2 separate regions of the Homo sapiens genome follow, and region 2 is linked to region 1. The links are contacts of gene promoters, found by promoter capture Hi-C in human tissues and cell types (Jung and others, 2019). All regions are on one chromosome and are shown on one strand. Each heading gives the region's core, a stretch centred on a gene start or on the middle of the fragment in contact. The rest is flanking DNA. Distances are from core to core; before and after follow the strand shown. Region 1 holds the start of MED4 (mediator complex subunit 4). Region 2 overlaps FNDC3A (fibronectin type III domain containing 3A).

The links. The method cuts DNA at HindIII sites, captures the fragments that hold promoters and counts their contacts. A contact is called where the count stands out against the background at its distance.
Region 2: a contact is called between a fragment that was not itself captured here and the fragment with the promoter of MED4 in region 1, in 2 of the 25 tissues and cell types used here (aorta and dorsolateral prefrontal cortex).

What each region holds. Positions count from the first base shown.
Region 1 is chr13:48,092,307-48,097,000 of GRCh38, reverse strand. MED4 (mediator complex subunit 4) reads left to right here and starts at 1,897. Exons shown (of 7, transcript NM_014166.4): 1 at 1,897-2,047. The coding sequence starts at 1,923. RefSeq lists a silencer at 2,394-2,688. The HindIII fragment of the contact is 12,809 bases long and covers 1-4,694 here.
Region 2 is chr13:48,982,870-48,987,563 of GRCh38, reverse strand. All of the region lies in intron 1 of FNDC3A (fibronectin type III domain containing 3A), which reads right to left. Among named protein-coding and RNA genes, the nearest start is that of FNDC3A, 9.3 kb to the right of the region's middle. The HindIII fragment of the contact is 3,503 bases long and covers 301-3,803 here.

The sequences.
Region 1 (4,694 bases), core at 648-3,147:
AACCAACACATACCGCAGAAGTTTGGCACCCTGGAAACTTAACATAAGAAATGATTGACTAGAGTACTGAGAGGCATGTTTAGAATGCAAGTGTAATGAACAAAGCTTCAATCTACTTTAGCCCATTGCCTGAGAATTGACTGCATTAACAAAAAAGGGTTAGCCAACAGCAGATGCAGGGAACGGTCAGAAAACAAAAGGTGACAAGGATCTCTTGCACTGTCTAGAGGAAAAGGTACCCTGACCTATGAACACAAATAATCCAATCTCTTGAACACAAATATCCCTACACTGTGGAGACACAAAGCCTCATGATTGTGTCATTAATTTTTAATCTATCCTTGTTTGTTCTGATCCAAGTTTAACAAGCAACATCCTGTGATAATATGGCTTCTCATATAGTTTTGTCTATGGGAAAAAGATATGTTTGGCACTATTACTTTTCATCGTAAGTGAGTAAATCAGCATTCTAGATTACGCAGCAGTTGCTATGAGTGAATTTATTTAACATGAATTTCTAAAAGACTTGTCAACTCTGGGTGCCCAGGAGTCAGGTTTAGCACCTCCAAAAAGACAGAGTAGAGGATGAGACCCTGAAATGAAAGGACTACAGGTACTACTACCTCATGGGAGTGAGGCAGTCCCAGACCATCTTTTATAATAGCAATATGGAATCCTCATTCCCAATAGGCTTGTAACTTTGCTTTTTTCTGGTAGAGAGTGATCCCTACTACATTGTTATCCCTAGGAAAAGTAGGCTAAGACGTATTTTTGCCTTTGACAACCAGTTCTGGTTTGGAATGTGTGGTACATCAATGACTTAAACTATGTTAATTAACTACTACTTATGTACTGTATTGGTTCCTTCAGTTCAATAATTAACCTGAGTAATGAGCAAAACATTTTGTTGGAAGATGTATGGCTATAAAGATGGATTATAGCAATGTGGAAGTAACCTAACTGTCCATCGTCAGATGAATGGATGAACAAAAGGTGCCATATGCATACAATGGAATATTAGTCTTAAAAAGGAAAGATATTCCAGCACATGCTACATCATGGATGAACCTGGAGGACATAATGCTGAGTGACATAAGCCAGACACAAAAAGACAAATACTGTATGATTCTGCTTATATGAGGTACCTAGAGTAGCCAAACTTACAGCAATGGAAAGTAGAATGGTGGTTGCCAGGGCCTGGAGAAGGGAGGGATAAGGAGTTAGCATTTAGTGAGTACAGAGTTTGTTTTACAAGATAAAAGGTTTTGGAGATGGATAGTTGCTCAACAGTATGAATGTATTTAATGCCACTGAACTATCCACTTAAAAATGGTTAAGGTGGGCCGGGTGCGGTGGCTCACGCCTGTAATTCCACCACTTTGGGAGGCTGAGGCAGGCGGATCACGAGGTCAGGAGATTGAGACCATCCTGGCTAACAAGGTGAAACCCCGTCTCTACTAAAAATACAAAAAATTAGCCGGGCGTGGTGGCGGTCGCCTGTAGTCCCAGCTACTCGGGAGGCTGAGGCAGGAAAAATGGCGTGAACCCAGGAGGCGGAACTTGCAGTGAGCCAAGACATCCGCGGCGATGCACTCCAGTCTGGGCAACAGAGCGAGACTCGTCTCAAAAAAAAAAAAAGAAAGAAAGAAAGAAAAAAAACCATTAGGCCCAGGAGAATCAGACTGCGTTGCCCCCACTGTTCTCAGTTCAGCTGTCGCTCCCAGGGTTTGGACCAGAAAGCCCTCGCCGGCCCAACAGATGGCGCCGGTGTCCGCAGTGCGCCTCCAGGCCCAAAGGGGGCGCTCTCGCCAGGCCTCTTTTTCCTCTCCTGGGTGACTCTTCCGCCTTCCGAGCCCGCCTTCTCGCCACGCACCTGCGTCAGCTCGCTCTGCGCGTGCGCCGGTGGCGGGACTCTGGGGAAAATGGCTGCGTCTTCGAGTGGTGAGAAGGAGAAGGAGCGGCTGGGAGGCGGTTTGGGAGTGGCGGGTGGTAACAGCACACGAGAGCGGCTGCTGTCTGCGCTTGAGGACTTGGAGGTCCTGTCTAGGTAATGCGGCGAGCCTGAGAGCCGGGCTGGAGCTGGGCCGGGGGACTGACCCCGGAGCCGGCCGGCCCTGCGTTTGTGCTCGTTCTCGGGGTTCGGCGGGGAGGGCCAGCTCGGGAGTTTCGGGTGCATGAGGGTCATGGACGTGGGGTCCGCAGCCCTCTGGCACTCTGGGCGGCGGTTTTTCCCGTTAGAGGGAATTTTAGTAATGATAAGAACTCGCGCGGTCTGAGCCTCTTCGTCCGCGGCCAGCCACTTAACATTTATGGAACGCTCCTTGGGGGCTCAGCATTGGGGAGACGGTAGTGAAGGGTAGACTGGATGCCAGCTGTCGAGAGAGAGACAGATGTGTAAACTGGCTTGGGGCCTGTTTTTATTAGAGGGCTGCGCTGCGGGGTACTGGAGCACAGGGACTAGGCACCTTTTTTGGTTGTAGTCAGGGCAGGCCCTCTGAAGAAAGTGCTGCTTGGGAAGCATGAGCTCGCCAAACTCACTAGGCAGCACAGATAGATGGAACAGCAAGTGCAAAAAGCCTGGCTTGGTGGAGTTGCAAGTTGTTTAGGATGGTTGTGTGTCAGAGATAGGAGATGAAATTAGATGTCGTTCTTCATATTCTGTCACCTTTCATGATAAGTCTTTCAAGTTGAAGCCTTCCTTGACTCCCTCCCATTGACTTGGATGGTAAATTATCTTGGTTCTACCTCCTAAAGTGTCGCTCCAATTTGCCCTCTCGTTCCAACCCCGCTGTTCATAACTCCTTCTTAAATGTAGCCTCCCAAACAGTTTTAATTGCCTCATGCTTCTGCACTTTATCCTTTTATATTGGCCGATACCAGTTTTAAAAGGCATCTTATATCACTTTTCTGCAGAAAAATTATATAAAAGCTACCTCATTGGTAGGTTTGCGTTGTCCAGTGAGGTAAAGTTCAAATTCTTTAGTCAGACTTCCACATCTTCAGTGCCATTCCCAGTCTACTCCCGATTTGGTGAATGATTCATATATCCTTCAGAATCCAGCTCAAATGTCACTTTTTCTATAGCCAACATTCTTTGACAGCTTTAGAATAAATCTTACCTGTTGTATTTTAAAATATACGTGATATAATCAGCACTTTATTTTTGGTGTAAATTTAGTCCTTGCCATCGTATTGCTACCAAGTTACCAGGTCAGCACAATATTTAATGATGGAAGAAAACCCGAAAACACCTAGACAGCAGAAATTAAATGGCTTATGTGTTTGATCCACTGTTTAAAATAAACTGTATTAGGGCCGGGTGTGGTGGCTCACGCCTATAATCCGAGCACTTTGGGAGGCCAAGGCGGGCGGATCATTGGAACTTCTTCACAGAATGAAGCTGCTCTGGTGGTGTGACTGGCTTCCAGAAAGGTCTCATGTGTTCACTCAGAGGTAGTTATGTGTACTGATTCTGTGATCTGTGAAGTTTGTCAGTCTCTGAATGTAATTTGTGTCTGGCTTGCATTTATGAAAATGAGAAGAAAAATCACGAATATACCTTACATATTTTTAGATTTAGCCTCTTTAAAAATAGTGGATTTATAACTTAGGATCTTTTTTTTTCTATTAACCTGATTATATAGCCTTTCGGGATATTTATTAGTTTATAAAATGTAATGCAAGGAGATAGTCTTAAAAAGTTGAAACACAGGTTGTAGGCTAAACGTTTTTTTTAACCCATTTGTAACTCAAAACTCATTGTTCCACAGAACCATGTTGATAGGAATCTTGAGTTTTCCACACCAGCCTGTTAATTCTGTTTACCTGAAAAGTGTATTACTGCTAATAATGTAGGCTCTAACCGCTATGGAAATTTTATTTCTATGGGGAATTGTGTCTGGATTCTAATGCAGTATGCTGGGAATGCACCTTCTTTTTAGCAGGACAGGGCTCTTGAGTGTGGGGGCTTCCTTTGGCCTCTTTTTCGCAGTTGGGGAGGACAGGGGTTTCTATTTTGTCCTGGACTGTTACAGAACATGACTAAGTCTTAGAGACTTCTACCTCCCCTCTACTCCGGCGCCTAAGGCAAGCCTTGTAAAGCCTTCTGTGGACTCACGCTCCCAGATTTGCAAGAACAGAGGAAGGCTTATCCCACATCTCCTACCATAGCCCCACTCTAGTCAGCACCACTCCTGCCCCACCTGAAACCAGCTTTTACTTAGACCAGAGGTTCTCAACCGTCTATGTCTCACTTGTGGCGTACACTAAAAAGTTTACTTAACATGCTGTTTTCATACGCTGTTGATCCATCAGCAAGTCCTGTTAGCTCTACCTCCAAAAGATATCTGAAATCTGTCCATGTTTCTCCCATCACGATTACTAAGTCCTGGAGGCTATAACCTCGTCAAAACCAGTGTCATTTTTTGCCTGGAACACTACAGAAACCACCTAACTTACTTCCTGTTCTGGCCCTCTTACAGTCTATTTACCAGATCACTCAACAGTTTTTAAAAGTATAAATCAGGTCATGCCATTTCCCTGTTTAAAATAACCCAGTGGCTTCTCATTGCATTTAGAATGAAACACTAGGCCGGGCGCAGTGGCTCATGCCTGTAATCCCAGCACTTTGGGAGGCCGAGGCCGGCGGATCACCTGTGGTCGGGATTTCGAGACCAGCCTGACCAACAGGGAGA
Region 2 (4,694 bases), core at 803-3,302, 890 kb before region 1:
AAAGGGAAGAGGGCATTCAAGCCACCATCCTCACCCTTCTTAGTCAGATATACTAAATTTAAATTTAATTAGACATTTAGGAGATACAGCCCCCATTCTCCCACTAAGAAATTATACCTTAATACTAACATGAAAATCCTGTTAAAATAGACTTCAAAGGAAATCTTGATCAAAAAGATACTTCCAGTCAGGAAACTATGGAAACAAGAGAGAAAGAACTGCTTCCAAGAAACGAACCCCAGTCCATTAAAGGACTGATAGTGTGCACATAGATCAGTTTTTCTTTCAAGTAACATCTTCTTAAGTTCCACATATAGCTCTAGCTGTCTAGTGTCTTTGGAGCACATAGGCTACCCTTTAGAGCCAAAAGGCAACTACACCTGGGACAATCCTATTTTCACTTCCAAATATTTTACTGTCCTTTTTAGAAGTATTATATAAAACTTTAGTTTTTATATTATAGATTGTTAACTTTGCTCTTGTAGAACTTCAAATCCATTGGTGTGATTTTTGGACTGAAGATTAAACCTGTAGTTTCTGAATATTTTCTGGCCACAGTAATACATTGGTAACTAAATTCACAACAGAAAGTTTGAGTTCCTGTGTAAAAGCTACTGTATTACTATAACTTAACCATATTAACATGTTTCCTTCACTAATTCCTCCAAAATAATTTTATCATAATAAAATCAAGTAACATTTCTTTATTTCCTATAAGTAGATTTGTCTGCAGAATCCAGTAGTCCTTAAAGTAGTCCTTTCTGAGATGACCAGATTCTTTGTTTATAAATCTACAACTATGCCTTGGTTAAAGATTGCCTCTAATCATACTCATCTTCCTTCAACTTCTTTTTAAAAAAACCTTCCGGGCCAGGCGCAGTGGCTCACGCCTGTAATCCCAGCACTTTGGGAGACTGAGGTGGGCGGATCATGAGGTCATGAGTTTGAGACCAGTCTGACCAACATGGTGAAACCCCGTTTCCACTAAAAAATACAAAAAATTAGCCGGGTGTGGTGGCACGTGCTTCTGGTCCCAGCTACTCAGGAGGCTGAGGCAGGAGAATCTCTTGAACCTGGGAGGCGGAGGTTGCAGTGAGCCGAGATCACGCCATTGCACTCCAGCCTGGGCGACAGAGCAAGACTCCGCCTCAAAAAAAAAAAAAAAAAAAAAAAAAAAACAACTTCCTTCTCCTTACTCTGTCTTCCTCTTAAGCTTCTGATTCCTCTCTTGACCTCTATCATTAACTGTCTTGAAATATTAGGTTTTAATATTAAAGGGGAGGATCAAAATATCCAGACATATGGGACTTTAAAAAAACTACATTCGAAATTATAACTTTATATTTAAAAAAGCAAAGTGTTTTTATAACAGAAACTCTGAAAATAAAAAGCACTTTATTTTGTCTTGGTTGGCAGTTGTAGTTATAGAGGTTAAGAATCACTGGTAGAATTCTCACTTCTTTAACCCACTTTAACACAGTTTCAGATCCAACACTATACAGAAATTGCTATTTCTAAAAACACCAATGACTTCAGACACCAACTGGGAAGCTTCTGCAAGTGAAAGGAAGTGCTATTAAAAATTACGCAGGGAAAACCGACATAAATCAAAGCTGTCCACCCAGGAGGAATGGTCCTAATCAGGACCAATCATAACAAAGCCTTGCATGTGTTGTTATGTTTGTTATATCACAAAGGCTGTACTTGCTTATACTTGAAAATACACATACAAACATTGTTTTTAACTCTTTCCTGATCCCTAATCCAACTCCTATTTCTATAGCTAACAACTGTGGTGTACCCTTCCAGTCTTTTTCTCTGTGCTTACCTGTGTGTTAGGTTTTCTGGGATTGGTTGTTATGTAAGTGAAATCACATACACTGCTTTTGTGTATTGTATTTTTTTTGTGTGTGTATGAATTGTGTCTTTGTGTATGTATTATATTGTATCTCGCCCTTTCATGTAAAATATCTTAAGAAGTACATCTATGTCTATTTCATGTTTTTTCATAAGTATCTAATATTATAGTGTAAGGGCACACCATAATTTAACTGTTCTAATGATGATCTTATTACTTCCAGTTTCCCATCATACATTTTCTCCTCTGCATGGAATAATCATGCAATACTCTCTATTAATGAATGATAGCATTTCTATATTACAGACATATAGAAATAAAACTTCTGGCTCAGGAGAACGTACATTTGAAATGGATAGATACTGCCAAACTTTTCTCCTAAAAAGATGAAGCTATTTATATTCGGTTCAATAGTATTCCTTCAAAACTTAACAGGCTACCTATATTTCTACCTCTATAAATTTCCTGCTTACATTCTTTCCCATTTTCTATCAGGTTATCTTTTTCATATTGATTTGTAGGTACACCTTATATACCTTGAATATTAATTTTGTCTATTACATGTCGAATATTTTATCCCAGTCTATTGCTTGCCTTCCTTTTTAAATGGCATCTAAGTTTGATGTCTCACTTAAAAGGCCTTCTCTACTCCAACGAGTTTTTAAATTAACTTTTAAAAGTTTTGTCATTTTATTTTTTATTTATCAACATTTAGTCCACTCGGGGCTGGGCACAGTGGCTCACGCCTGTAATCACAGCACTCTGGGAGGCTGAGGCGAGCAGATCACAAGCTCAAGAGATCGAGACCATCTGGACAACATGGTGAAACCCCGTCTCTACTAAAAATACAAAAATTAGCTGGGCGTGGTGGTGGGCACCTGTAATCCCAGCTACTTGGGAGGCTGAGGCAGGAGAATCGCTTGAACCTGGGAGGCGGAGGTTGCAGTGAGCCGAGATCACGCCACTGCACTCCAGCCTGGTGACAGAGCGAGACTCCATCTCAAAAATAAATAAATAAATAAAAATAAAAAACCATTTAGTCCACCTGGAACTTAGTTTTGAGAGTGTCACGAAGTGGGTACCTAACTATCTTTACTTCAATTAAACAGTTGATTGTCCCACACCCTTTATAGACCAGTTCTTCCATTACTCATTCATTTATCATACAATTCTTCTTTATCCATGTTTATCTATGGATCTTCTCCTGAATTTATTATTCTATTCCTTTGATCAATATGCCTATTCCTACTCCAAATTCTTATTTTAATAATTGTAATTTTATAATGTTTCGACCTTTGATGGGTCCCATTTATTATACTTCTTTTTGAAATTTACTTGGCCATTCTTGTGCATGCTCCCTTCTCAAAACTTGAACCATCAGTTTGTCAAATTCCATTTTAAAACTCCTGTTGAATTTCTGATTAGAACTGCATTGACTTTATAGAATAATTTAGTAAAAGCTGTCATTTTTATGGCATTAAGTTGACACATTCATGAATACTCCTCCATCCATTCACATCTTTTTGCAGTTTTCTTCACATAGCTATTACACATTTTAAAATCTTAAGTATTTTATAGTTTAGGCTGCTACTTCTTATTACTGTATTTCATAGTTGGTTATTGTTGATATATAAGAAGGCTAATGAATTTTCTAACTTTATCTTATAGCCAATCAGCTTACTGAAATTTTTTAATACAAATCTTTTTCTGTTATCTCATATTTTTTTGCTATTTGTATTTGTATTATATTTATTTGTATTTGTAAGCAGTCATATCAACTCTAAATAATAGTGATACATTTCCCCCCTTTATTTACAGGTTAATTATTTTTCTTGTTCTTAATGTATTGCCTAAGACTTTTGAACCAATGTTGTGTTCCTATCTATTAATGAAAGTGCTTCTATTATTACTCTATGACATTTGGTGATAATAGTATCTACCGCAGAGAGATGTTTTAAGGCTTAAGTAAACTGATACATATAAAGTTTTTTGCAATAGCACCCAGAATACAGAAAGTGTTTAATGCCTATTAATCATATTATTTACTAAGTGCCTTTTATTTGTCAAGCACAAATAAAAGTATATGCATGCACCATTGCAGAGGTTGGCAAACTAAAGCCTGTGGGCCAAATCTGGTCTGCTGCCTAGTTTCGTAAATGAAGTTTAATAGGAACACAGTCATGCCCATTGTTTATAATTTATCTATGGCTGTTTTTGTGCTCCTGTAGCACAGTTTAAGTAGTTGCAACTGAGCCCATATGGTCCACAATGCCTAAAATATTTACTACCTTCTCTTATATTAAAAAAGTTGCTGACTCCAGTAGTACTGGTCAAACTCAAGGAGTTCATAGTTGAATAGCTGATTTAGACAAGTAAAAAATATATATACATTACAGTATGATATATACAACCCAGATATTCTGTGGGTATTATGGAAACATTTTGCATTTAAATATTAAAAGACAGGAAGGACTCACACAAGTGAAAAGACACAAGATATTTTAATTATTTAAAAATATGTATTTATTTACATATCATTATCTCTCATCCCATTCTGTAAATTTCTAAAGGGGAGGGAGTGTGACATTCATTTTTGTGACATTCAACATTCATATTCTAAGTATCTAGGACATTTTAAATGTTCAACAAATGATAGGCAAATGAATAAATGAATGATATGCAGGATGCCTGAGTGACAATGATTAGGTATGTCTGTCAAAGTTCTAGATATAAATATCCTATGGCAAGCATTTTACTTGTCATGTTAAATAGGATCTTTTAATTCTTGTACAGTCTATATTAGGAGATAGCTACTATTATTACTACACTGTAAAAT